Linked DNA regions of Homo sapiens: all the other regions are linked to region 2. Evidence: promoter capture Hi-C in human tissues and cell types (Jung and others, 2019). All regions are on one chromosome and are shown on one strand. Each heading gives the region's core, a stretch centred on a gene start or on the middle of the fragment in contact. The rest is flanking DNA. Distances are from core to core; before and after follow the strand shown.

Region 1 (6,906 bases), core at 3,227-5,726, 400 kb before region 2:
TTCCCATGACTGTATGTTTGTGAATACATGCTAGTGGCCTCTGTGGGACCCAATCCTAGTCCTGTGTGTGGAGAACAGTGGTGCTATCTCTTGGTGTGCACACACACGTTAATTCTGCACACATACCTGTGACATTGCAGCTGGCTAGGTTGCCTACTATGGCTCCATGGCCCTGCCCACCCCATAATCCTTCTCCATGTTTTTCATTCCTTTAAAAAACATGGGTCTTTACAACCAAGGGATGCCTAGATATTCCACCAGAGAAGAACATTTCATAAGCAAGCATGCATGCCCATGTCTGTGGGTTTGTTAAAATGCATGTGCATATCTACGTGTGTTCCACAGGCCTGGCTTCTCTGGTGAAAAGTGGGGCTCCTATGGTTCCTTGGGTCCTCTTGGCTCTGAGGGCCTCAGGCAGGGGCTCATCAGATACGTGCCCACTCAGGAGAGGTTAAGCTCATGTGGCTCCTTTTAGGAAAGCCAGCCAGACATCAGCCCCGCAACTGAGGCCCATAATCAGGCTAATTTTTCTGACCTTCATCCTCAGGAGGGACAACAGGCAGCCCTAAGCCCAGAGGAGACAGACTTTAAGAGCCTCACCTTGAAAGCCAGATGCTCCAAAAAGTAGCCTGCCCCATTATTCTTCTCAGTCTCAAAACGGCTGCCAACATCAATCCACACTCCCACCTGGTCAAGAAGCCACCAGAAAAGGTTACAAACAAACCACTCCCCAGCCCCCTACTCACACCCCACCTGAGTGACTCAGTACAAGCCCCAGGCAGGGACTTATGAATCCTGGAGTCAGGGAGAGCTGCCCCAGCAGGACCCCTGTGCTTGGGGACACAGTCATGCTTGGAAAACAGGGGCAGCCGAATGACTCGTCACACCACATCATTGCTCTCCTGATTGGCTATCAAGGACCCACAGGGACACTTCTAACTGTGCACATTTACCTGGTCTCACCAGCATACAAATCCTTAAATTCACTCTCAATTTTCAGTTAATTATTTGTTTTTGTCTAAGCATACAACATATCATTTGCAAATAACAACTTATTTTTTCCTTTCTAAAAATTACACGCTGCCTTTGTTCTGGCAATGATTTTATCCTTTCATCATTAAGGAAGGGACTATTGGTTTAGACTGTATATTTTATCACACTAAATATTGTTCCTATAATATCTTTTTTGTTGTTGTTTTTAATCAGCTCTGAACACCAAACAGTGTTGCCTTGGCACCCAATAAGGTAATATTAATTTTCTTGACAGCCTCCTGGTTGCTGTGAAACACGCACCACAGGCTGGGCGCGGTGGCTTATACCTGTAATCCCAGCACTTTGGGAGGCCAAGGCAGGTGGATTACGAGGTCAGCAGTTCGAGACCAGCCTGGCCAATATAGTGAAACCCTGTCTCTACTAAAAATACAAAAATTAGCCAGGTGTGGTGGCACGTGCCTGTAGTCCTAGCTACTTGGGAGGCTGAGGCAGAATTGCTTGAACCCAAGAGGCAGAGGATGTAGTGAGCCAAGATCGTGCCACTGCACTCCAGCCTGGGTGACAGAGAGACTCCATCTCAAAAAAAAAAAAAAAATGTAAAAGAAACACGTACCACTCACCCCACTTGGTCACACGGTCTAGTCTTTTAATTTACTATTTGTTCACAGCTGATTTAAGTTTTTCACATCTACTTTCCTAAGTACTTTTTTTTTTTTTTGACATGGAGTCTCACTCTGTCACGAGACGAGTGCAGTGGTGTGATGTCGGCTCACTCAACCTCTGCTTCCTGGGTTCAAGTGATTCTCCCGCCTCAGCCTCCCGAGTAGCTGGAACTACAGGCGTGCACCACCACGCCCAGCTAATTTTTGTTTTTTTGTGTGTGTGTGTTTTTTTTTTGAGACGGAGTCTCGCTCTGTCACCCAGGCTGGAGTGCAGTGGTGCGATCTTGGCTCACTGCAAGCTCTGCCTCCCAGGTTCATGGCATTCTCCTGCCTCAGCCTCCCGAGTAGCTGGAACTACAGGCGCCCGCCACCACGCCCGGCTAATTTTTTGTATTTTTAGTAGAGACGGGGTTTCACCGTGTTAGCCAGGATGGTCTCAATCTCCTGACCTTGTGATTCGCCCGCCTCGGCCTCCCAAAGTGCTGGGATTACAGGCGTGAGCCACCGCGTCTAGCCTAATTTTTGTATTTTTAGTAGAGGCGGGGTTTCACCATGTTGGCCAGGATGGTCTCAATCTCTTGACCTCGTGATCCGCCTGCCTCGGTCTCCCAAAGTGCTGGGATTATAGGCATGAGCCACTGCGCCCAGCCAAGACTTTTTTTTATTGTATAAATTTATGGGGTACAAGCACAATTTTTAGAAATTTCTATCCACACCTGAAACTCCATTTTTTTCTTTTTTTTTTTTTTTAAGACAGAGGGCCTTGCTCTGTCACCCAGGCCAGAGTACAGTGACATAATCATGGCTCACTGCAACCTCTTATTCCTGGGCTCAATCGATCCTCCTGCTTTGGCCTCTCAAAGCCCTGGAATTACTGGTGTAAGCCACTGTGCCCCGCCCACAAGTGTGATGTCATTACAGGCACAGAATGCACAAGTAGTCAAATCAGGGATTCTGAATTATCCATCACCAGAATAACAAACCTTGTACCCATTAAGTAATTTCTTTTTTTTTTTTTGAGATGGACTCTCGCTCTCTCACCCAGGCTGGAGTGCAGTGGCTCCATCTCGGCTCACTGCAATCTCTGCCTCCCGGGTTCAAGCGATTCTCTTGCCTCAGTCTCCCCAGGAGCTGGGATTACAGGCGTGTGCCATGCATGGCTAATTTTTGTATTTTTAGTAGAGATGGGGCTTCACTATGTTTGCCAGGCTGGTCTTGAACTCCTGGCCTCAGCTGATCCGCCTGCCTTGGTCTCCCAAAGTGCTGAGATTACAGGTGTGAGCCTCCAGGCCTGGACCCATTAAGTAGTTTCTCATCATCCACCCCTTCATCCTTCCAAGTCTTCACTGTCCATCATTCCACTCTCTACATCTGTATGTACGTATTTTTTAGCTCCCACTGATAAGTGAGAACATGTGATATTTGCTTTCCTAAGAGATGTCAATGCATATACCATATATCACACAATCTTAGATGAACATGTATTTCACATCTAACATCTTGGAATGCAAGAGGCATTTTACAATCTATAGTATCCTTTGATTAAAATTGGCAAGATTCTTGAGATTCTTTCTCTGGCACTGGAGCACAGACAGCTCCTTACAATCTAGCACATTTTAGAGTTCATGTAATATAGCATTCTTTACTATAACAAGTGACATATAACAAGGAAGTTGCAGGCCACCTTTTCCTATGCTTAGTAACAATTTAAATCGCAGGACATTGTTTCTGGAAAACTAAAAGGATGTGTCAATAAAAACATCTGGCCCTGGGGCTGGGGGCTGAAAGGAGGAGGAGATAATTATTTCTTGGGAATCTTCTCACCTATTCATATATCTATCTGTGACTCAAGATTTCTTGTGTCAATTTAGAGAATTTGTATTTTTTGGAAAATCACACATTTCATTGTACTGTTAAAATGCATTTGCTTCCTAAAATGTATTTCTGGTCTAGCCTGGAGATTATGACCTTGGGCAGTGAGGCTGACAGACCTGGACCCCTGCAAGTCACCTAAGGTGTCTGAATCCCATTTTCCGCATTATAAGAGGAGACATGATCACTTCCCTTATATGGGCTCCTTAACAAAAGGCTGGAAAAGAATTTGGCCGCCTACTTAACGGGCATTATATGCTAAATAATGTTGGCTTATAGTGAAGATTGTCCCGTGAAGCCAAGGCGTGGCTAGGGTAGGGAATGGGGCCATTCTCGGGGTGAGTGGTCCTGGGTCCGAACCCAAACCACAAACGGGAAGACTCGAGCCCAAGGTCACACCCCAACCAGGGAAAAGACGGCAGGCCCAACCTGGAGGCCCTCTCCCCAAAAGCGTCCCCAACTCACCGTGCAAGTGGGCTGAGAGGACTGCTCGGAGGCCACACGCAGGCCGTTGTCCAGCAGGCTAACCTGCGTCTCCGGCACGAACTGGAGCGCCTGAGCGAAGGTTGCCGTACTCCGCAAGGCTGGCGTCCGCAGCAGGGCCGGCTGTGGAAGGGAACAGCCGCGAGTGAGGACTCGGTCAGGGGATCGCTCCCCACCTCCCAGGTCCTCAGGAGGACCCCCGAACCCCGCCCCTAGGCAAGCGGCGAGATACCTTTCCCCGCCCTCCGCCGTGACCTTCCCACGGCCCTGACCCCGCGTCCTCCCCACCTCGACCTGCCACTGCTAACAGCCCACACCTGTCCGCTTCCCGAAGCCCTGTCCCGAAGCCCCGCGCTCTCGCCACCACCTCACCGAGCGGCGGGCGCGCAATAGCACTTGTGCCCCGGCGGTAGCGGCCCGACAGACCACGGACGCCGCCATCTTCCAGCTGCAGTCGGCCCTGTTGCGCCGCGCAAGCGTAGACTGGGCGCGTTGGCGGTCGCGGCGCAGGCGCAGTACCGTACAGTTGGTGCTCGGCCGCCTCCTGGCGGGAACCGGGACAGTCTATTGTGCTGGCCTGGCTTTGGCTGACTGGCTCTGACCGCGCTGCCGCCAGTCCCTGCGCACATCAGTCCACCTGCCGTCCATCAGCCCGAGCAGGTCCGCCCGCCGTGCAGTCCATCTCCCCATTCCACGCGTGGAAGTCAGAGTGCATTATGTTTCTCACCAGCCGCGCTGCGTACTGAGGTCTGGCGGGCGGGGAGTTGCAGCCACAGCGTGTCCGCAGGTTCGAGCCCAGGGCTAAAGTACCAGCGTGGAAACTTACCTGGGACCACAAGTTGGTGCTGAAAGTCAGTATTTTTTTCTCTTTATTTATTTTTTATTTTCTGAGACAGGGTCTCGCTCTGTCGCCCAGGCTGGAGTGCAATGGCGCGATCTCGGCTCACTGCAACCTCCGCCTCCCGGCTTCAAGCGATTCTCCTGCCTCAGCCTCCCGAGTAGCTGGGATTATGCCCGGTAATTTTTGTTTCTTTAGAAGAGACAAGGTTTCTCCATGTTGGCCAGTTTTGCGCCCTGCCAGTTTTCTCTTTAAAAGAACTAAGTACAGGCCGGGAGCGGTGGCTCACTCCTGTAATCCCAACACTTTGGGAGGCCGAGGCAGGTGGATCACTTGAGGCGAGGAGTCCAAGACCAGCCTGGCCAACATGGTGAAACCTTTCCTTTTCTGTAAGAGGAAAAAGAATTCTGGCTGGGTGCAGTGGCTCATGCCTGTAATCCCAGCACTTTGGAAGGCCGAGGTGGGCGGATCACCTGAGGTCGGGAATTTGAGACCAGCCTGACCGACATGGAGAAACCCCGTCTCTACTAAAAATACAAAAGTAGACGGGCGTGGTGGCGCATGCCTGTAATCCTAGCTACTCCAGAGGCTGAGGCAGGAGAATCACTTGAACCCGGGAGGCGGAGGTTGCGGTGAGCCGAGATCGCGCCATTTCCAGCCTGGGCAACAAGAGCGAAACTCCGTCTCAAAAAAAAAAAAAAAAAAAAAAAAAGACTTCTAAGGTATGCTTTGTTATGTCAACTAAAGAAAAAAAAAAACAAGCTTTTAAATATTTAAAGTTAGTTCTATTCAGAAGTCTTACCAAGAATTGCAACCCGGGAGAGCCTTTCAGGGAGTTTCTGCTAGACTGCTCCAAAGCAGTGTTTCCGACAGTTTATACACTGGTGGTGGCGGCTCTCCATGTGCTCAGAAATTACATCAAATGTGCTCAGAAGTTACATTAGAGCATAAATCTCATCAAGGTTTGGGTGCAAGAGTACATCTGTTTATAGGTCACAGAAGCATAATCATTAATCCTGTCAGACAGTATCTTAAGTACAGGAAGAGGCAAGGGCTAGGATCATTGCATTTTTTACCATGTTGGCCAGGCTGATATCAAACTCCTGGCCTCAAGCAATCCACCCACCTCAGCCTCCCAAAGTGCTAGGATTACAGGGGTGAGCCACCACACCTTACCCAAAAACTACTCTTATACTTAAAATAAAACTATCTTTATAAAAATCATGCCAGATGCCATGACCACAGGCTCTCACACCACACCCAGCTAATTTTTTTTTATTTTTTGTGGAGACGGGGGTCTCATTATGTTGCCCAGGCTGATCTTAAACTCCTGAGCTCAAGTGATCCTCCTACCTCAGCCTCCCAAAGTGCTGGGATTACAGTCATGAGCCACCGTGCCAGGCTGACTTTATTTCTTATAAAGGGTTACAACCTGCAGGCTGGGAGGTGGGCTTCTGGTCAAAACCAGAGACAGACCCTTAAAAAGAGGCAGGAGCTTTATGTCGAATGGCTTGGCTAAACATACATATTCGGCCGGGCACGGTGGCTCACACCTGTAATCCCAAACTTTGGGAGGCCGAGGTGGGCGGATCACAAGGTCAGGAGATTGAGACCATCCTGGCTAACATGGTGAAACCCCGTCTCTACTAAAAATACAAAAAATCTGCCAGGCATGATGGCATGTGCCTATAATCCCAGCTACTCGGGAAGCTGAGGCAGAAGAATCGCTTGAACCTGGGAGGCGGAGGTTGCAGTGAGCCGAGATCGCGCCACTGCACTCCAGCCTGGGTGACAGAGCGAGACTCTGTCTCAAAAAAGAAAAAACAAAAACAAAAAATACCATATTCAACAGGTTACAGGAAGAGCTATAGATACTCATGAAGGGGGTCCTAATGCAAGTATACTGAATAAACATGTGTGTTGTATATGACCCATGTTCACTTTGGGGTGGAGACTTAACATTGAAATACATTACAGGCCGGGTGCGGTGGCTCACGCCTATAATCTCAGCACTTTGGGAAGCCGAGGTGGGTGGCTCACGAGGTCAGAAGATCAAGA
Region 2 (6,259 bases), core at 3,682-6,181:
TCACTGGGGTCACCCACTGAGGGACCCTCTTATGCTTTAGGTTCTGGCCCAGACTCGCCTGGGAAATGGATGGTGGATGACTCCAGAGAGCATTCAGGAGATGTACGCCGCGATCAAGGCTGACCCTGATGGTGACGGTGAGCTCACACCTCTGCACAGTCCTATCCCCGTGAGCCTCCTGCCCACTCCCAGGTGCACAATTTTGAAAACTTGGGCCCTTCCCCCACAGCCAGGCAGCCTCTCTGCACCCCTTTATAGTGGCCAGAGATGGGGAGGTGAAGATCCAGCCTTGCTTTTTACCCCTGGGAAGTAGGCAGGCAGCCAGGCCCCCCGTTCCCCTTGGTGATGGTCTCGAGGGCAGTTCTTGGAGACCCTTTTGATAACATCAGGCAGAGTTGAGAGCCTGGGGACAGGAAGTAGGGCTGCTAGTTGGCAGAGAACAGAGTGGGTGGAGCAGGAGCAAGGCGACAGTGAGGCCAGCTAGAGCTTGGCTGTTTACCCTGCTCCATCCATCTCTCCAGCCAGACACGAGGTCCACCCCAGCAGACAGCTTCCCTGGTCTAAGTGAGATCTCCCTTGCCTTCCTCTTGTCCACCTGGAGTCATGCCGAAGCGCCTAAAATGGTAGTGCTGCTACCTGTGCTAACTGCTGGGGAGGGGTGGGCAGGGAAGCTGTCATGCAAGTGGTGCCCCCTCTGGTAATAACTCTCAGGAGGTTTCTGAGGTGTGGTCATCACCCTCATGCCCAAATTCTGGACCAAGAGAGGAAGATACAGCAGTTAGAAAGGACTTGGAACAGTGGCTTTGCGGCTGGTGAACCAGAGTGAAGAATCTGGCCGTGACCTGTGGCTGGATGGCTGCCACACTGCTATAGGCCCCAGAACAGAGGTGGTGACAGTCTCACAGCCCTTGAATGTCCCCCACCCTCAGAGGAATCTGGGCCAAAGAGTGGAAGGTGATGTCCTTGGGTCAGCCAGAATAACATGGAGCAAAGATACCAACTACTCTTCCAGAACCCCAAGAGGGTAGAACCCCTGCTTAATGGTTTGAGCAGGGACAGTGGAGAATGTTCTCATGAGAGGGGGTGGCCTGACTTTCGTTGCTAAGGTGGGCTGGTAACGCAGTAGGCAGGGCTGGCGAAGTAGGTTCCACCCAGGATGAAACCTGGGGTCATGAGGAACTCCCCGGGGGCTGGCCCTGCTTGCACCCTGGCGTATGTATGTAAGGCCCTGGATGAGGCCCAGCACTGCCTGCTCTCTCCTCACCCTCCACAGGCCGGAGAGTGGCCACCACTCTATATAGCCAGGCTGGAAGGCCAGGGTCCTGGCCATATGGCTCAAGCTTCCTTTGGAGAACCTTCTCTGGCCACTCTAATAGGGGGTGGGCCTCTTTCTTCTTAGGGCCAAATTAGGGCTTAAACTGAGAAAAGGAACTGCTCTGGGTCTTCCTGTAAGGCCTGATGTGACAGAAACCAGGTTCATCTGACCCAAAAGTCCAGGTGGGGGACAAGTGTACAAGGCCCCTCAGTGCCTGAGGTCAGGGGCTGCTGCTGCCTTTGGGGTAGGTAGGGAAGTGCAGCCTGCCACTGTTGCCTCCCAATATGGGCTTGGTGGGCATTGATGGTGGGTGCCCTGTGCAGGAGTGCTGAGTCTGCAGGAGTTCTCCAACATGGACCTTCGGGACTTCCACAAGTACATGAGGAGCCACAAGGCAGAGTCCAGTGAGCTGGTGCGGAACAGCCACCATACCTGGCTCTACCAGGGTGAGGGTGCCCACCACATCATGCGTGCCATCCGCCAGAGGTGAGCACCTGAAGCTGTTCTCACTGGAGCAGGGGGAGAAGACTGGGCAGGGCCTCCACAGAAGTCCTTGTCTGGGGCCAAGAGGACAGAATGGATTAACCCATTTGGGATTAAGTTCCATTTGTTAGACCAGGATTGGGACCCACTGAAAGACAGGCAATTAACAAAGGCAAATTAGCCCTCCTTGCAGGCACACAATGGGCAACTGGGGTTAGATAGAGATTGAGCACTTCTTTCTGATTAGATAAATGACCTCTTATCTTTGACCCCTTATCTGACCCCGTCACAGCAGGAAAAGGGTTTTTAAATAAACAACTTTCTTCCAGGGAGGAGGACCTCAGGACTCCCCGCCCCCTTTATTTAGTGGAAATGTCAACATTTCCACATAGCAGGTGTCTCTGTCTTTGGCATCTGAGGGAGAAGGATCATCATGAGTAACCCCCTCCTGCTCTTACAGGGCCAGTCTGAGATGGCTTAAGGGACTTCCAGGGGAGGTGGGTAGGGGCAAAGCTTGTGGCAGGCCTAGGGTCCACCTTGGCCAGCTCCTTCAGATCACCACCTTGCCTGGGGCTGCCCAGCCAAATGCCTGCTGCCCACCAGGGTGCTGCGCCTCACTCGCCTGTCGCCTGAGATCGTGGAGCTCAGCGAGCCGCTGCAGGTTGTTCGATATGGTGAGGGGGGCCACTACCATGCCCACGTGGACAGTGGGCCTGTGTACCCAGAGACCATCTGCTCCCATACCAAGCTGGTAGCCAACGAGTCTGTACCCTTCGAGACCTCCTGCCGGCAAGTATCTCCCAACTGGGGGCTGCCTTCAATCCTCAGACCAGGAACACCCATGACACAGGCACAGCCCTGCACTGTGGGCGTGCCCCTTGGCATGGGGCCAGGAGATCACTGGGTTATCCCGGTTAGTGATGCCCTCACCTCTCCCCACAAGTTGTTTACCCAATGGCTGGAAAGGGGTGGCTACTGGTCATCGTGACCACTGGAGTCAACACAGACTGATGTACCCACAGACACCAAAACTTGCCCCCTGAGTTCTGAAGCAAGGGGCAAGGCTGGGCCCCTAGCTTGTCCTGCCCATTCCTCCAGGTGTTGATCTTGATTCCACTTAGAGAAGCTGAAGCTGTGCCTCCCTCCCCTGTCAAGCCAGTTCTTTCCTCTTCAGGTGGCTGTTCTGGCCCAGCCCCTTCCCATCCCCAAGGAGCCCTTCAGCGCGCCCTGTTGCTTCTGCTAGCCTACCTTTCCCTGCCAGGCCCTTGCTCAGGGCCATGGCATTTAACTAAGTGCACCTGTGATCTTGGCCAAAAAACCATTGCAACTCACAGTAAGAGACTGGGTTTCGGGGAAGGAGGGGCTAGGGACATTTTGGCACTGGCCTGCCCTATTGTCTCCCATCCTAGTCTGTCCTGGTCCCTGGCAACAGGAACCTGGGCAGCTTATCCTGCCCACAGGTAAGCCCCTGGGAGCATCCACAACTGGGGACCTGCTCAGTGCCCCCCCTGCCTTACAGCTACATGACAGTGCTGTTTTATTTGAACAACGTCACTGGTGGGGGCGAGACTGTTTTCCCTGTAGCAGATAACAGAACCTACGATGAAATGGTAAGGGTCAACTGGGCTATTACTCTTGTGGGCTGGCAGGGGCTTAGACAAGTGAAGTACACACCTCTCCAGGTCTAAGGATGTGGGCCCAAATTATTCCTTGGGCATATCTGGTTGGTTTCCCTTTGGTCACCCTTGGCTGGCCTGGCCATAGAGTGGGGACAGGTTGAACACCCCACCACCCTGCTGCCCACAGAGTCTGATTCAGGATGACGTGGACCTCCGTGACACACGGAGGCACTGTGACAAGGGAAACCTGCGTGTCAAGCCCCAACAGGGCACAGCAGTCTTCTGGTACAACTACCTGCCTGATGGGCAAGGTGAGGGCCTATGGCCAGGCCTGGGGGGGGTGCCCTGAGTACAGCTTCCCTTTACCCAGCCCCCGTCTGCCACAATGGAGGGCTGTTTCTGGCTGCTTTCCAAATAGTTTTCTGCTCCTGGTGCCTCCCAAAGGCCATCCTTAGTGACTTTAGCAGACTGCCCCAGGACCTGTACTGCTTATTGGGTTATATCCATCCCTATCATTCCCTGATGCCCCAGCCTTCCTACTCCCTGGGGCTTGGGACACATGTCCCTTGCTAACCCAGGATGGGAAGGGATATGGACAGGCCCAACAGCAAGAAAGCTGGTTTCAGAGGGCCAGTAGTGTTGACTATACATTAGTGGGCTGAGATGAGGAGCCTCCAAGGAAGCTTTAGGTCTGGGTGTTTGCTACACAAGGAATGCATAGCTGGACCCACCTTGGTCATGCTCTTGGTGCCTATGAGGCCAAGCTCTGGCCAGCCCAGCCTAGGATCTCACGTCACCCTCCTCTTCTAGGTTGGGTGGGTGACGTAGACGACTACTCGCTGCACGGGGGCTGCCTGGTCACGCGCGGCACCAAGTGGATTGCCAACAACTGGATTAATGTGGACCCCAGCCGAGCGCGGCAAGCGCTGTTCCAACAGGAGATGGCCCGCCTTGCCCGAGAAGGGGGCACCGACTCACAGCCCGAGTGGGCTCTGGACCGGGCCTACCGCGATGCGCGCGTGGAACTCTGAGGGAAGAGTTAGCCCCGGTTCCCAGCCGCGGGTCGCCAGTTGCCCAAGATCAGGGGTCCGGCTGTCCTTCTGTCCTGCTGCAGACTAAAGGTCTGGCCAATGTCTTGCCCCACCCCGCCAGCCGCGATACGGCGCAGTTCCTATATTCATGTTATTTATTGTGTACTGACTCCATCTGCCCCGTCAAATAAAAAACCACAAGGTTCGAGCCGCCGGGCCCGACAAACTCCGGGTCGGCGAAACAGAGTCCGCGATAGGTGCAGCGGGCTGGCAGCTGGGAGCGCCCCGCAAGCGTCACGTGAGGGGGCGAGGGGCGGGATGCCCCTCCGCGGGCCCCGCCAATGATGAGCTGGATTGCGTGGGACGAAGGGTCGTCATTGGACAACCGCCGCGGGCGCCCTGGTCTCTGCTACCTGTAGCTGAGGGCGCTGTTGATGGGCAGCGCGGCGCGCTGGGAAGGCTCGTTCTCGCGAGAGTTCAGCTCCCTTCTTAGCCGTGGCTGCCTCAGCACCTCGAGGATCGACATGGACGCTCTCGAGGACTACGTTTGGCCGCGGGCAACCTCGGAGCTTATACTCCTCCCAGTGACGGGTCTGGAGTGCGTGGGGGACCGGCTGTTGGCGGGTGAGGCTTGGCTTGAGGCACGCCTGGTGGAAAGGGGGAAAGAAACAGCGCCTCCCAGGGGCGGTGCCACAGGGACAAAAGGGGTGCCCTGAGGAGAAGGACGGGCAGCAGGTTGAGGCCGATCGGAGGTGGGAAGGGAGCCCCGGAGATGGCGGGGACGAGGGCCAACCTGAAGAGGGCGGGGCCCGAGAGACAAAGCTGATGTGGCCGCCGCGGCGCTTCATAAACTTCAGCCCGCGTGGAAAGGGCGGGTGGAACCGCGGGAGGGTGCAGGGGAACGCGGCCGCGCGGAGGCGGAGGCGGAGGCCCGGGAGCTGAGGGTTGAGGGGGTGTGCTCCCTTCTAGGAGATGGGCGGGGGCTTGGCCTCTCCGAAGGAGACGGGGCCGAGCTGGGGGGGGCGGAGGGAGGAGGAGGAGGAGGAGGCGGAGGCGGCCCCGGCCCCTCAGGGGGTGTGGCCTCTTGGGGAAGGCGGGGCCGGGAGAGGGCAAGGGTGTGGCCTCTCGAGGGCGGGATGAGTCTCTTCCCCCTAAGGTGGGGGTGAAGATCCTCTGAGGAGGGTGGCGTCGCGGAAAACGGCGGATAAGACCTTTCCGAGTAGGGGGCGGTGCCCGGGGAAGCAGGGGCTGAGACCCCCTCCTGAGATGGTTGAGGTCCAGGAAATCAGGTGTGGAGGTCCCTCCAAGGAGAACCGGGTCGCAAAGGACAGGCGAGGCCTGGGACCTGAGGTGTCAGAGTCCAGGCTGGTCTCGAACAGTCATTACATGAAGCCACTAATGACCCATGTTGGTGCTGCTGAGTTGTATAAGGGTCCTGAGGCAGGGCCTTGGCGGTCAGGCCTTGAGTGAGTTGCCACCAGTCCTAAGAGGGTGTGTGTATGGGGTGGGGATGATCCAGTTTTGATCTGGTGTGGGGGTTCTTGGAGCGCGGAGTTCCTACCGCGAGCTAAACTCCTAAGGCTCCTTGAGGGGGAACAACGAAGCAGAAACTCAAAGAACCACAAGAGTGAACTAGGAAAAGGGGTGAGTTCCTGGCAAGAGGGTAAGCATGCCAAAGGCCTTGAGGCTGGAAGAATCTGTCATTTTGGGGGAAGGAGGGAATTCTTGTGAAGTTAGAGCAGGAATGGAGTCTGGGAGGAAAGGAAGCTGGACAAGCGAGCAGAGGCCACATTGTTTCAGGCCTTGATCTG
Region 3 (6,463 bases), core at 1,748-4,247, 330 kb after region 2:
GGATGGTCACTTGAGCTCAGGAGTTCAAGACCAGCCTGGGCAACAAACCCCATCTCTACTAAAATTACAAAAATTAGCTGAGCGTGGTGGCACATGCCTGTAGTCCCAGCTGCTCGGGAGGCTGAGGCACAAGAATCACTTGCACCCGGAAGACAGAAGTTGCAGTGAGCTGAGATCATGCCATTGCACTCTAGCCTGGGTGACAGGAATAAAACCCTGTCAAAAAAAAAAAAGTACATAACATGCGTGTACATATATAAATATACACATACACATGTACATATAATAGTGCCTATTGTTCATCTTGTCAAAAAGCATTAATTTGTGCTTCATATTCAACTTACCACTTTTTTACTTAAATGTAAGCAAATGTGGTATTTTATTTACCTATTTATTTCCTTAGAGAGAGGGTCACCCAGGCTAGAGTGCAGTGGCACAATCATAGCTCTCTGTAGCCTCAAACTCCTGGGCTCAAGTGATCCTCCTGCCTCAGCCTCTGAGTAGCTGTGACTATAGGCACATACCACCATGCCTGGCTAATTTATTTTTTTATTTTTATTTTGTAGAGGCTAGCTCTTGCTATGTTGCCCAGGCTGGTCTTGAACTCCTGGCCTCAAGTGATCCTCCTGCCTCAGCTTCCCAAAGTGCTGGGATTACAGGCATGAGCCACTGCACCAGACCTGTTTATATTTTTAAAGTATCACTGTGCTGGCCGGGAGCGGTGGCTCACGCCTGTAATCCCAGCACTTTGGGAGGCTGAGTCAGGTGGATCACGAGGTCAGGAGATCGAGACCATCCTGGCCAACATGGTGAAACCCTGTCTCTACTAAAAATACAAACATTAGCGGGGCATGGTGGTGCATGCCTATAATCCCAGCTACTCGGGAGGCTGAAGCAGGAGAATCGCTTGAACCCGGGAGGCAGAGATTGCAGTGAGCCGAGATCGCGCCACTGCACTCCAGCCTGGTGATGCAGCGAGACTTCGTCTCAAAAAAAAAAAAAAAAAAAAAAAAAAAAAGTATCTCTATGCTGTTTTACAATTAAAACAATCTCTGTGGAGCAACAAAGCATCAACAATTATATTGGTGCATCCTTAAAATTTTATAACCAACAAATGTGAGAGGAGGTCAGGCAGCTTCCCAGAGGTCACAAGGATCCATAAACACATCCATCTCTAAAATGCTATTTTTCTTCCAAATCCCTTGAGCAATACCTTCCATACAATTTTACTGTATGATTTTAGTCTATCTTAAACTTCCTCTACTTCTGCTGAGTATTCTTTATGAACCCTATAGAGGTTAACTTAAAAAGTACCTCTGCTAGGCCGGGCGCAGTAGCTTCCGCCTGTAATCCCAGCACTTTGGGAGGCCACAGCGGGCGATCACCTGAGATCTGGAATTCGAGACCAGCCTGACCAAAATGGAGAAACCCCGTCTCTACTAAAAATACAAAAAAAATTAGCCGGCCGTGGTGGCGCATGCCTGTAATCCTAGCTACTGGGGAGGCTGAGGCAGGAGAATCGCTTGAACATGGGAGGGGGAGGTTGCCGTGACCCGAGATCGCGCCATTGCCCTCCAGCATGGGCAACAAGAGCGAAATTCCTTCTCAAAAAAAAAAAAAAAAAGAAAAGAAAAGAAAAGAAAACACAAAAAAAGTACCTCTGTTTACCCTGCCTTTCACAAACTGGTTAGCTCAAGGTGAATACATAAGCTGTTATCTGTACTCCTCCTAACCCCAATTTTTCTATTCTCCTGCTCAATTCCTCGGCAGATCATCACCACAATGATTTCTTAAAGATAGGTAACACTCGGGCCGAGCACGGTGGCTCCCACCTGTAATCCCAGCACTTTGGGAGGCCGAGGCGGGTGGATCATAAGGTCAAGAGTTTGAGACCAGCCTACCCAACATGGTGAAACCCGGTCTCTACTAAAAATACAAAAAATTAGCTGGGTGTGGTGGCGTGAGCCTGTAATCCCAGCTACTCGGGAGGCTGAGGCAGGAGAATCGCTTGAACCCGGGAGGCGGAGGTTGCCGTGAGCCAAGATCACGCCACTGCACTCCAGCTTGGGCAACAAGAGTGAAACTCCATCTCAAAACAAAACAAAACAAACAAGATGGGTAACAATCATACTCGATGCAAAGTCTAGCCTTAGTTTTTCTACTCCTACACAATTACACCACCCAGGAATCTCTCCAGTAGTACAAAGTATTGTCCCCTCTACTAAACAATCTATTAAGATGCCTAATAACTCAGCCTGGGTCTTCTAAATTCTGGACCCTTCATCTTCTATCTAGCTCCAGGACCTAGGCTATCCTCCTCTCCCACTCCAAGACACTGCTGCCGCAAATATTTTTGACACTTGCTACCAAAATAATCGGGGTTCTCAGACATTTGTTCAGCTTCTGACCTTGACATCTGTTGGCAGTTTACAAGTTACAAAGTATCTACTTCTGATTTTCCCCTCAACCCACTGAGGTCGGTGAGCCAAATATTGCTATCCTGGTTTTAACAGTGAGGAATCCAGGTCTGTGACACCTTCGCCCAAGGTCACACGGCGAGTCCTCATGGTAAAGGGCTCTCCCCACCCTTAGGGTCCCCACCAACCTTCCCCTTCTCCACATCCCTCCTCCTGGCCCCCGCCGGGCCCGCCCCCTAGGGCTCCAAATGAACTGAGACGACACTCAGGCCCCGCCTGCGCTTTCCCAGAGCTGATCCTGGAGTTATTCTCCTGAGGGGCAGGTGTCAGGCTACTCTTCCAGGGTCACTACATACCATCCCCGCCCAGCCCCTACTCTAGCCGAGAAAAAGGAGGCCCCTTTTTCTCGGCCCCTGGTTCTGCATAGAGGAAGAGCGAGCCGGGAGCTCACCACTGCGCCCCGCGTTGGAGTGTGGTCCTCATTAAGGGTCCAAGCTCGGACTTCTGAGTCTCCGCATCCGGTCGCTCACGGCAGCCTCCACCTTCCGCCATCTCCTCCGCGGCCCCGGCCCAGCCGGCCCGGACATCCGCCCCGCGCGCGGCGTGCTATAGACCGCGCCCACGCACGCACGCTCGCGTGCCCGCCCCTGCCCCACCTCGAGCCGCGGCCTTCGGCTCCTGCAGCCGCTGTCTTTTCTCCCCTCCGCTCTCGCGCCACCTAGCTCACCGGCGAACAGTGGAGCGGAAAGGCACACGCGAGAGGGGTGGGCGGGGAGCAGCAGCTGCTACTTCCTCCCGCCCTGCCGCCCGCTACGCGGCCTTCGGGCGCCCCTTCCTCTGCTCAGGATGGCGCTACACTTCGAAGCTCTGTTCAGCCCGCCGATCTCAGGGAGTTAGGCAGCAAGCCCACGACCCATCGGGCACCCCAGCCTGGCCTTCGAGGTTATCGTGGTCCTAAATAAATGCAGGCCAGGTGCGAGAAGCCCGGTAGTTAGGTCTGCTCATTCTCACCCCTGCAATTCCGCTTTCAGCTGGAGGCCTTAGGCGAGTCAGCTGCCCAAACGTGGGATCGGGGCTCCTGCTCCAGCGGCCCTACAGGGATTTCGGGAAGTACCATGTGCACCAGCGCCTTGGGACCAAGACTCAATGGTGTGTTGTAGTCATTAACAGTCGCCTTAAACAGTCGACGCCAGAGCCACCTGGCCCACCGCAGAATTCCGTCAGCTCTTCATACTGAGCTACTTGCCAAGCAGCCACAGAGGGGCGATAGCAACAGGGGAAGGAGAGGTACTCCACATTAGTTACCCAGGCGTGTACTTAGTTCCTGGAACAAGATACAACGTCCTGAACACTATGTTTTCCAGTCGCCCCGCTCACACACACAACCCTCCTCTTGGAGGGAGAAGTAAACCCAGAGGAAAGAGGAAGTCAGGCAGTTGGTCTAGATGCGTCTCCATACACTTGTCTAACAGTCCTTGTCCTCAGAGAAAAATAAGACCTAGTTCCTGCCCTCATAGAATCTAGTAGAAAAGAAGAGATGTTACAGAAATAACCTCAATGCCTAGCAGTATGTGGTAAGTGCCATTAAAGTGTGTGAACCAGGCCGGGCGCGGTGGTTCAAGCCTGTCGTCCCAGCACTTTGGGAGGCTGAGGCGGAAGGATAGGTTCAGCCCAGGAGTTAGAGACCAACCTCGGCAACATAGCGAAATCCCGTCTCTACAAAAAAATACAAAAAATAGCCGGGCAGTGGCTCGCGTCTGTGGTCCCAGGTACTTGGGAGGCTGAGGTAGGAAGATCCCTTGAGCCCAGGAGGTCGAGGTTGCAGTGAGTCGAGATGGCGCCACTGCACTTGAGACTGGACGGCAAAGTGAGACCCTGTCTCAAAAAAAAAAAAATAAATACAAATAAAGGGTGTGAACCGGCCGGGCGCGGTGGCTCACACCTGTAATCCCAGCACTTTGGGAGGCCGAGGCAGGAGGATCACCTGAGGTCGGGCATTCGAGACCAGCCTGACCAACGTGGAGACCGAAATGTCTTAAAAAAAAAAAAAAAAAAAGACCGGGCGTCCGGCGCGGTGGTTCATGTTTGTAATCCTAGGACTTTGGGAGGCCGAGGCGGGCAGATCACGAGGTTAGGAGTTCGAGACCAGCGTGGCTAATATGGTGAAACCCCTTCTCTACTAAAAATACAAAAAAAAAAAAAAAAATTAGCCGTTAGTGGTGGCCCACACCTAGTCTCAGCTACTCGGGAGGCTAAGGCAGAAGAATCGCTTGAACCTGGGAGGCAGAGGTTGCAGTGAGCCGAGATTGCGCCACTGCACTCCAGCCTGGGCAACAGAGCAAGACCCCCTCTAAAAAAAAAAGGGGGTGTGAACCAAAGGCTGTAGAACGCCAGGCACAACCCCTGCTCTCATAGGAAGCCTTTGACTTGAGTAACATTTGAGTGTGGTATTGAAAAAAAATGCTGGCAGAATAAAGATGAGGATGCATGTTACAGGAGGGGAGACTCAAGGGACCAGAAGATAATTTCTGGAAAAGGCAGGACAGGATCAGAGAGTGGGGATTAGGCCAGTTGAGGCGGGCACTACAACGCTACAACAGCCTAAGGGGATCTAAAGCTAGAAAGGAGGCCAGACAGACCATATATCCTGCCTTAAAAGGCAGGCAGGCATTATAGGAAGTTTTGAAGCAGAGACAAAATGGCTGAGGGTGCTTCACGCCCACGGTGGTGTAACTCAGACACAGAACCATTAGGAACCTCTCACTATGGAGGTGGCTGTGAGGGAGAAGAGGAGAAACAGAGAAGCCATGTCTATTTTATTTTATTATTCTTATTTTTCTACCTATTCCTGTTGAAAAGATGAGCTATGTTTTGTGTCGGGGGTGAAGGAAGGGGAACTGGCCCAGTGAAAATACGGTAGGTCATTTGAACAGATTTACTATTTTTATGTTGGGTTTGGCCAATTGAAATTAATTTGCACTCCCTGGGTCATCCATCACACACCATCTGATAAGAAAGGCCTCTTGGCAATTGGGTAGATAGTAGGAGAAAGTAAATATGGAATTAAAACTGCCTTAAATAACCACATAGTAATTAATCCCCTGTAGATAAGAGTTACCACCACCACATGATGATTCTACATCTGCAGAGCCAACCCTAACAAGTCCCCTTCTATGAAAGTTCTTTGAAACTCGTTTTTGTTTTGTTTTGTTTTGTTGTTTTTTCTGAGATGGAGTCTTGCTGGGTCCCCCAGGCTGGAGTGCAGTGGGGCAATCTCAGCTCACTGCAACCTCTGCCTCCCTGGATCAAGCGATTCTCCTGCCTCAGCCTCCTGAGTAGCTAGAATTACAGGTGTGCGCCACCACGCCTGGCTAATTTTTGTATTTTTAGTAGAGATGGGGTTTCACCATGTTGGGCAGGCTGGTCTCAAACTCCTGACCTCATGATCCACTGGCCTCAGCCTCCCAAAGTGCTGGGATTAAAGGTGTGAGGCACCGTGCCCGGCTGAAACTCTTAAAAATGTTATCAAAAAAGAAACACTACCTTTAGTCCTGTTATTTATGGAAAAAGAAAGTTGAGGCCAGGCGTGGTGGCTCACGCCTGTAATCCCAGCACTTTGGCTTTGGAAAGCCAAGGCAGGCGGATCGCCTGAGGTCAGGAGTTCGAGACCAGCCTGGCCAATGTGGTGAAACCCTGTCTCTACTAAAAATGCAAAAATTAATTGGGCATGGTGGCGAGCACCTGTAATCCCAGCTACTCAGGAGGCTAAGGTAGGAGAATCACTTGAAACTGGGAGATGGAGGTAGCAGTGAGTCAAGATCGCACTACTGCACTCCAGGCTGGGTGACAGAGAGAGACTCTGTCTCAAAAAAAAAAAAAAGTTGGTTACTGACATCGGTTCAGAATCTACATTTCAGGGTGTCTGCTTCCCTCTTCTTTTTTTAGCAGTTTCACCAAACCATTTATGGCAGTCTTAAGGAAGACAAGTAGGACAAGTCCTCAGCACCACTAGAAAAGGGGACAAAACCTAATTATAAAAATGAAAA
Region 4 (6,220 bases), core at 3,020-5,519, 350 kb before region 2:
TCACCTCCCGTAGCCGCTGAGCCAGCTTCTTGGCCTCCATGGTATCCAGTGCCGTCTTGTTCAGCTCTAGGCCATCCAGCTGCCAAGACAAGGAGATGGTTGCTCTGTGGTCCCTTAGGCCTTCCTCTAAAGCTTCACAGGGAGAAAGCCTTGCCAGATTAAAGGGCAACCAGGAAAGGCTCAGGAGTTCAAGGGCTAGGGTGTGGTATCTGGGGCCCACCACAGGCCAAGGAAGGTCTTAGGTTGCAGGAAAAGGTCTGGGCAGTCTCACCAGCAGACTGAGCTCTCGAAAGGCAGGGGAGGTACAGTTGAAGAGGTCGGGCTCCAGCCAACCCTGGGCCTCATCACACAGCCGCACAGCAGCACCTGGAGGCAGGCAACCCCTGGTCAGGCCTGGGGCCTGGATACCTTTGCTGAGGAGATAACCGCAGCACCCTCTCCTATGCTGGGGGAATCCCTGAGGCAGAAGTCAGAGTCATGAGCATCTATAGCTGCACCCCTGGAGGTAGCGGCCCAAGCCCAGGTAGGCCCCAGCTGCTTGTCAGGCAATTCCTGAGAGGGCTGTAGACCATTCTCAACCAGCAACCACACAAAGCACAAGGGTGGGGCTGCACACACTCACCCACGTGGGCCAGGACTGGCTCATAGATGTGCTGGTTCACACAGACACACACCAATGCTCACCAATTACACACAGATGTATGGACCAGACCAGTACGCAGACACACAATGCTCTCTCGCACACACACAGACATGCCAACACAGAAGAGGGCTTCTAGGAACATCCAGTGAAAGTCAGGTGGGAGGATTCTCACACAAGTTTTAACTGCCCCAGTGGTTACTTTGCTGTCATTTCTCTCCCTTGTCTCTGGGGTTGGGATGGAGGTTGAATGAGAATTGACTTGGATCTTAAAAAAGTTTGTAGCTACCAACAAGAGAGAGCCTAACTTAATCACAGAATCCCCTCCCCGCAACAGGTTCACAGACACGTGCACAGGCACAGAGATACACACGTGAGCATGCGTACACAAACAATCTCTGTCCAGCCACTGCAGAGACCTCAAGCAGCAGGGAGTGTTCTGAGGGGACCTCAGGCAGTGGGGAGGGGCCCCCAAGCAGCAGGAAGGAGCTATAGGGTCCTCAGACTGAGGAGGGATCTTTCGTGACCTCAGGCAGTGGGGAAAGTTCTATGGGGACCCCAGGAACTGAGAAGGGGTCAGCAGGGTCCTCAGGCAATGGGGAGGGGTCTCTGAGGATCTCAGGCATCAGAGAAGGGCCCCTGGGGTACTCAGATAGCCAGAAGGGGCCTGCAGGGACTTTAGGCAGCAGGGAGGGGTCTGCAGGGACCTCAGGCAGCAGGAGGGGTCTGCAAAAGCTCTGGTAGTGGGAGGGGGCAGTGCACCTGAGCAAACACGTACCCCTTACCTGCACCCCGCAATCCTGCCCAGAAGCCAAGAGAAACAGATGGAGGCTCAATGAGGGTGTAGGGAGGGGCCCACATGGACTCCCACCCCACTTCCACCTCTTTGCAGGAACAAAGCCACCCAATTTAGGAAAAGACATGGCTCTAGCAGTCAGAGTACAGGCCCACCCCCACCCTCAGTGATGTCCTTTCCCCCCACATACTCACCCAGGGCCCCCCGGGGACAGGGCACTGTGGCCAGGACGCCAAACTTTGTCTGGGGCCACCACACACCAGATCTCAGGGACTTAGGGCAGGCATCATAGAGCACTAGAGAGAGAAGAGGTGCTGAGCCAGGCAGTCAGGGTACAGGGCAGTTGACAGCCACACCCACTGCCCCTCCACCACCCCCCACAAGGCCCACTGCCCGCCACTCCTGCTGGCTTCTCAGGAGCTGACCTGTCAGATTCTGTGACAGGTCAGCAAAGTACTTGGGGCAAAGGTAGGGTTCCCTGGGTGTAAGTGGTCTCCCTCAGGAGAAGCTTCCAGAGTCCCCAAGGAGCCATGTGTGCCACTGACACGTGATGGTGGCACACTGGAACCAGCCCTCTATGGGTGGAGCTGGGTGGAGCCTGCTCACCCCGGCAGCCGCTGGCTGTCACCTCTGCGAAGGGACTGTCACAGCTGTTGCACTGGCGGCCAAGGGCTCCTGGGCGACAGGGGCACTGCCCGCTGTGGGGTGCACATGAGCGCGAGGTGGAGCCCACAGGGTAGCAGTCACATGGGAGGCAAGAGTCACTGCCCCGCGGTCGGTAGTGGAACTCCTGTTTGAGGATGGGCCAGGGGCCTGAAGTCAGAGGTCAGGGCTTGGGGAATGAGTGGAATCAAGGATAAAGGGTCAAGAGAACAGTGCTCATGGGCCAGAGGACACCTGGGTCATGCGTGAAGCCAAGGGAGGGGTCACGGGTAAAGGATGAGAGACAGCAACTTGGTCACAGGACACAGGCAAGAGGTTAGGGCCCAAGTCAGGTGGCGGAGGTCAGCAAGCTGGACAGGAATTGCAGATTGCGTCCAAGGAAGGGTTAAAAGGTCAGGGGCCAGGCGCACCTTGCAGTGACACTGCCCATTTGTCTTGTTGCAGTTGGGATCAAAACCTTTGTGAACATCACAGTTGCAGGGGCCACAGGTTGGGCTCCCCCACCAGCCCCGTGGGCACTGCTGGTCCATCCTGGGGGTGCAGAGCCAGGTAAGATGCCTCCACGGTATCCCAGTGACCCTCCCTGTCCCTGCCAGGTCTCCCCATCGCCTCAGCCCCAGCCTCTTACCTGTGCTCACAGTGGTGCCCGAAATAGCCACCCACACAGTCACAGGTATAGCCATGGGGGGCTCCTGGCAGGTGCCGGCATGATCCCTGGTTCTGACAGGGGTTCAGGAGGCAGGCATCCACACAGCCTGGGCCGTAGTAACCTGCAGATTGGGTCAGAAAGCTCAGGATCCTGGTCGCAGAGCATGGAAGGAAGCAGGCACCCGTCCCGAGTCCCTGCCTCCTTCAGGTTCCCCAGTCTTCATCATGGGCCCCTAACGCCTGCCCAGGTCACCCTTCCCCCAACCCTCTCAAGGCTCACCTGGCTGGCAGGTGCAAGAAAAGGTCTGCCAGAGGTCCCGGCAGTCTGCGTGAGGTGGGCAGGGCCCAGAGGCACAGGCGTTGGTCACAACACAGCCAGGCTCCGCATTCACTCGGTGGCTGGGGGGTAGCAGGGCCGGGGAGCCAGAGGGTGTGGAGCCGAGCCACACCCCCTGTGGACACACAGCCAGCAAGGGGTGAGACCATGTTAAGGCACCTCAGCCTCAAGTACTGCAGAGCCAGCCACCCGGTCTGATGATCCTTGACATGCAGTCTTCTGATACCCTCAAAAAACCCAGGCCTCAAAAATATCCCCAATTTGGTACCCCTGTGGGACCCTAATTGTGCTGTTTCTGACACAGATTCCTAAAGGCCCTTGATAATCCAAGCTAGACTCCCACCTCCAATGCCACAGAAAGGCTTGACCTAGCTCTCAACTCTGGGTCATTCACCCCCTCGCACCAACCCCCACTTGAATACTGCCTTTCAGGTCCCAAGGAGCCCCTGACTTCTGACCCCTGACCCTAATGCCCCATATCACATTCCCATGCTGACCCCCACCTGGATGCAGCCAACCAGACCCTGAGGAGCCTCCTCTGCACTGCCGGGGGGCAGGCCTCCCACGTGGAGCTGCTTTACCTTCAGGCCCTGCAGCTCACTCCCCACCGCCATGGTGTCCTGGAGGAAGTGGGGCAGTCAGCACTGAGGGAGAGGGGCCTGATGAACCCCTGTCATAGCCCAGAGTCAGTCTTGGCCTTCTTCTAGCCCTTCTAGGCTGCCCCCTCCCTCCTGGACCCACAGTAGACCTTAATATTGCTTGATTTTGACCGGGGGTGGGTAGAGACTGGGGCAGAGACTAGAAGGGGCTTCTAGGAATCAGGCAAAGTGCTGGCTACAGAGGTTCCCCAAGACCAGGCCCCAAATCTGGCACAAAGAGGGCTTGAGAGTGGACCAACTTGGCTGGTGGGTGGGCTCAGTGCAAGGATATATGGTGGGGAACTAGGGGTAGAACATCAGACTCAGTGCAGTGGAGGGAACTGAGAGGAGCTGGACTAGAGGTGGGGTCAAATAAGGCGGATCTGGTTGGAAGGCTGAGAACAGACTACCCCGGGGTCAGAGGCCAGACCTGGAAGAGGCTAAAGTCCAGTGAGACCATAAGGACATGGTGGCCCCGCCGGCCACCTGGTTCCTCCTGCAACTCCAGCCGCAGATCGTGCCACCGGCCATCACTGACAGTCACCTGGTCCAGAAGGAGATGGGAAGCACGGCCCGAGCCCCTGGTCACTGTCACAGACAGTAACCCCCGATCTAGCTGTGGGCAGAGATGCATAGCCCTGGGGTTAGAGCCCCATGTGGGCTGGGACTTGGAGGTGAGATCAGAGGGCTCAGAGGTCAGGAATATCAGAGGTCAGAACAGTGGGGTCAAGGTTATACCTGGCACAAAGGGCACTGTGCCAGGGGACATCATGTTGCTGATATGGGGTCAGGGGGCAGAGGATAGGACCAGGTGTTGTGGGTGGGTTGGTGCAGCTTGCATAAGAGAGAGCTATGCTGGAGCCCTGCACCTGCAGAGGATATAATGATGGAAAGAGAATCAAGGGCTAGGGTCCAGAGCAGGGTCAAGTGTGGTTGGGACACCTGGCAGAAAAGTATGCTGTGTGACCAACCTGAACCCACAAGAATGTCAGTGGCGGCCTAAGAGACTGAGAACTGAGGGTATAGGGGTGAGCAGGGTGGACACACCTGGCAAAGGAGCGTGCTGTGTGGCCCAGCCTGCACTTGCATCAGGACCCCCTGCGTTGCCCGTGTCCGAAATGCCAGCCCCAGGTACCATGGCACAGACACAGCCATGTCACTTCCAAAGTTCCAGCTCAGTGTGCCGTTGCCACGGAAATGGTGGGGATGGGCCATAGCTGAGTGGATAAGAGAAACAGGGTTACAGCCCCTGCCCCAGGAACAGATCTGACCCTGCAGGCCCCTCTGCCCCATGCTGCCCACTTACTAAGCTGACAGTCTTTGCCGCCGAAGCCCACAGGGCAGTCGCAGCTGAAGCTGCCCCAGCGCTCCGAGCAGAAGCCACTGTTCTTGCAGGGGCCTGAGTCACAAAAGTGTAGCTTGGCTTGGCAGCCTGGGAGAGGAAAGCACATGGCGGACATGAGAACAAGGGTTGGGGGGCACAAGTGCTGGACAGGACTTTAGTGTCCAGAGGGGCTGAAAGAGACCAAGATCTCAGCCCCATTTCCCATTTTCTTTCGATGAGTGGGGTTGGTAAGAGTCAGGCCCTAAAATCTGGGCTGTAGCATGGTGCTTGCCACCAAAGGAGACTGGCTTGAAGTCAGGTATGGAGTCCTCCACTTCCTCCCTATGATGGGGACAGGGCCATGGGCTAGGCTGGTGGAAGCTTCAGGCCTACCTGCCATGGTGCCATTATTTGCGACAAAAGCCGCCATGTCCACTCGGCGGCCATCAATGTGCAGGTCCCGCATACAGCCGATGAAGTCCTTATGGGATACGGGGAAGTTCTCGGGGAGGTTGGGGACACCTCCCAGAAGAAGAGGGCCCGTCAGGTCCAGGGACCTGGGGATCAGGGGTCTGGGTCATTGGTGGGACTGGGGCCAGAGTAGAGTTGCTCCTGGGGGGCCACAGGAAGCAGGGGGGTAGGACCCAGAGGGTAGGGTGATTGAGGGAGGAAAATAAGGCCGAGCTGTGGAAGGAGTTAGGATCTTACTTCAGTTGGGGTGCAAAGGGGCACCCGTGATGGGCCGATGGTCTGGGGAAAGGTAGGTGAATGGGGGTTGAGAGCTATGATGAAAGAATGAGGCATCTGGCTGGCTGGGGAGGGGATGGAGACGTGAAGACTCTGGGGGACTGGACATGAGATGAAGGGACTCGGAGGGGATGTGGGACATTAGTGAGACTGGGGTGGGGAGGTGGAGGCTTTGGAGGACTGCCTGGGGACTGTGTGTGGGAGGAGGGAGTATGGGGTGGAATACAGGATTGGGGGCTAGGGTGAGTAGGCTTTCAGGGTCTTTGAGAGGAGAGGGGAATCTTGGTGGTTTGGGGGAAAGATGGGAGAGTTTGGCAGGATGGGATGAGGAATGGGATGTGAAGGGTTGGAGTGGGCTTTGGTAGGCAGGGGACAAGGGGACTAGGGGGCAGGGGCCTCACTTCTTGGAGCTTGTTTGCACACCAGC

What was found. The method cuts DNA at HindIII sites, captures the fragments that hold promoters and counts their contacts. A contact is called where the count stands out against the background at its distance.
Region 1: the fragment with the promoter of UQCRC1 here is called in contact with the fragment with the promoter of WDR6 in region 2 in 1 of the 25 tissues and cell types used here (dorsolateral prefrontal cortex).
Region 3: the fragment with the promoter of USP4 here is called in contact with the fragment with the promoter of WDR6 in region 2 in 1 of the 25 tissues and cell types used here (dorsolateral prefrontal cortex).
Region 4: a contact is called between a fragment that was not itself captured here and the fragment with the promoter of WDR6 in region 2, in 1 of the 25 tissues and cell types used here (dorsolateral prefrontal cortex).

Annotation. Positions count from the first base shown.
Region 1 is chr3:48,605,170-48,612,075 of GRCh38, forward strand. UQCRC1 (ubiquinol-cytochrome c reductase core protein 1) reads right to left here and starts at 4,477. Exons shown (of 13, transcript NM_003365.3): 1 at 4,383-4,477; 2 at 3,993-4,133; 3 at 601-687. The coding sequence starts at 4,451. RefSeq lists a silencer at 4,098-4,197 and enhancers at 4,368-4,467, 4,547-5,061, 4,758-4,867. The HindIII fragment of the contact is 22,312 bases long and covers 1-6,906 here.
Region 2 is chr3:49,002,460-49,008,718 of GRCh38, forward strand. WDR6 (WD repeat domain 6) reads left to right here and starts at 4,932. Exons shown (of 6, transcript NM_018031.6): 1 at 4,932-5,072. The coding sequence starts at 4,973. It overlaps P4HTM (prolyl 4-hydroxylase, transmembrane), which reads left to right. Exons shown (of 9, transcript NM_177939.3): 4 at 41-137; 5 at 1,639-1,801; 6 at 2,402-2,587; 7 at 3,318-3,408; 8 at 3,605-3,728; 9 at 4,228-4,694. The coding sequence ends at 4,448. RefSeq lists an enhancer at 3,710-4,698 and silencers at 4,837-4,886, 5,427-5,606. The HindIII fragment of the contact is 10,419 bases long and covers 3,206-6,259 here.
Region 3 is chr3:49,337,056-49,343,518 of GRCh38, forward strand. USP4 (ubiquitin specific peptidase 4) reads right to left here and starts at 2,998. Exons shown (of 22, transcript NM_003363.4): 1 at 2,869-2,998. The coding sequence starts at 2,969. RefSeq lists a silencer at 2,939-3,128 and enhancers at 3,169-3,668, 3,299-3,468, 3,559-3,618. The HindIII fragment of the contact is 25,899 bases long and covers 1-6,463 here.
Region 4 is chr3:48,648,850-48,655,069 of GRCh38, forward strand. It overlaps CELSR3 (cadherin EGF LAG seven-pass G-type receptor 3), which reads right to left. Exons shown (of 35, transcript NM_001407.3): 6 at 6,195-6,220; 7 at 5,440-5,603; 8 at 5,029-5,154; 9 at 4,770-4,939; 10 at 4,153-4,338; 11 at 3,588-3,704; 12 at 3,028-3,199; 13 at 2,728-2,869; 14 at 2,510-2,630; 15 at 2,043-2,226; 16 at 1,631-1,732; 17 at 272-366; 18 at 1-79. Among named protein-coding and RNA genes, the nearest start is that of MIR4793, 7.7 kb to the left of the region's middle. The HindIII fragment of the contact is 6,463 bases long and covers 1,039-6,220 here.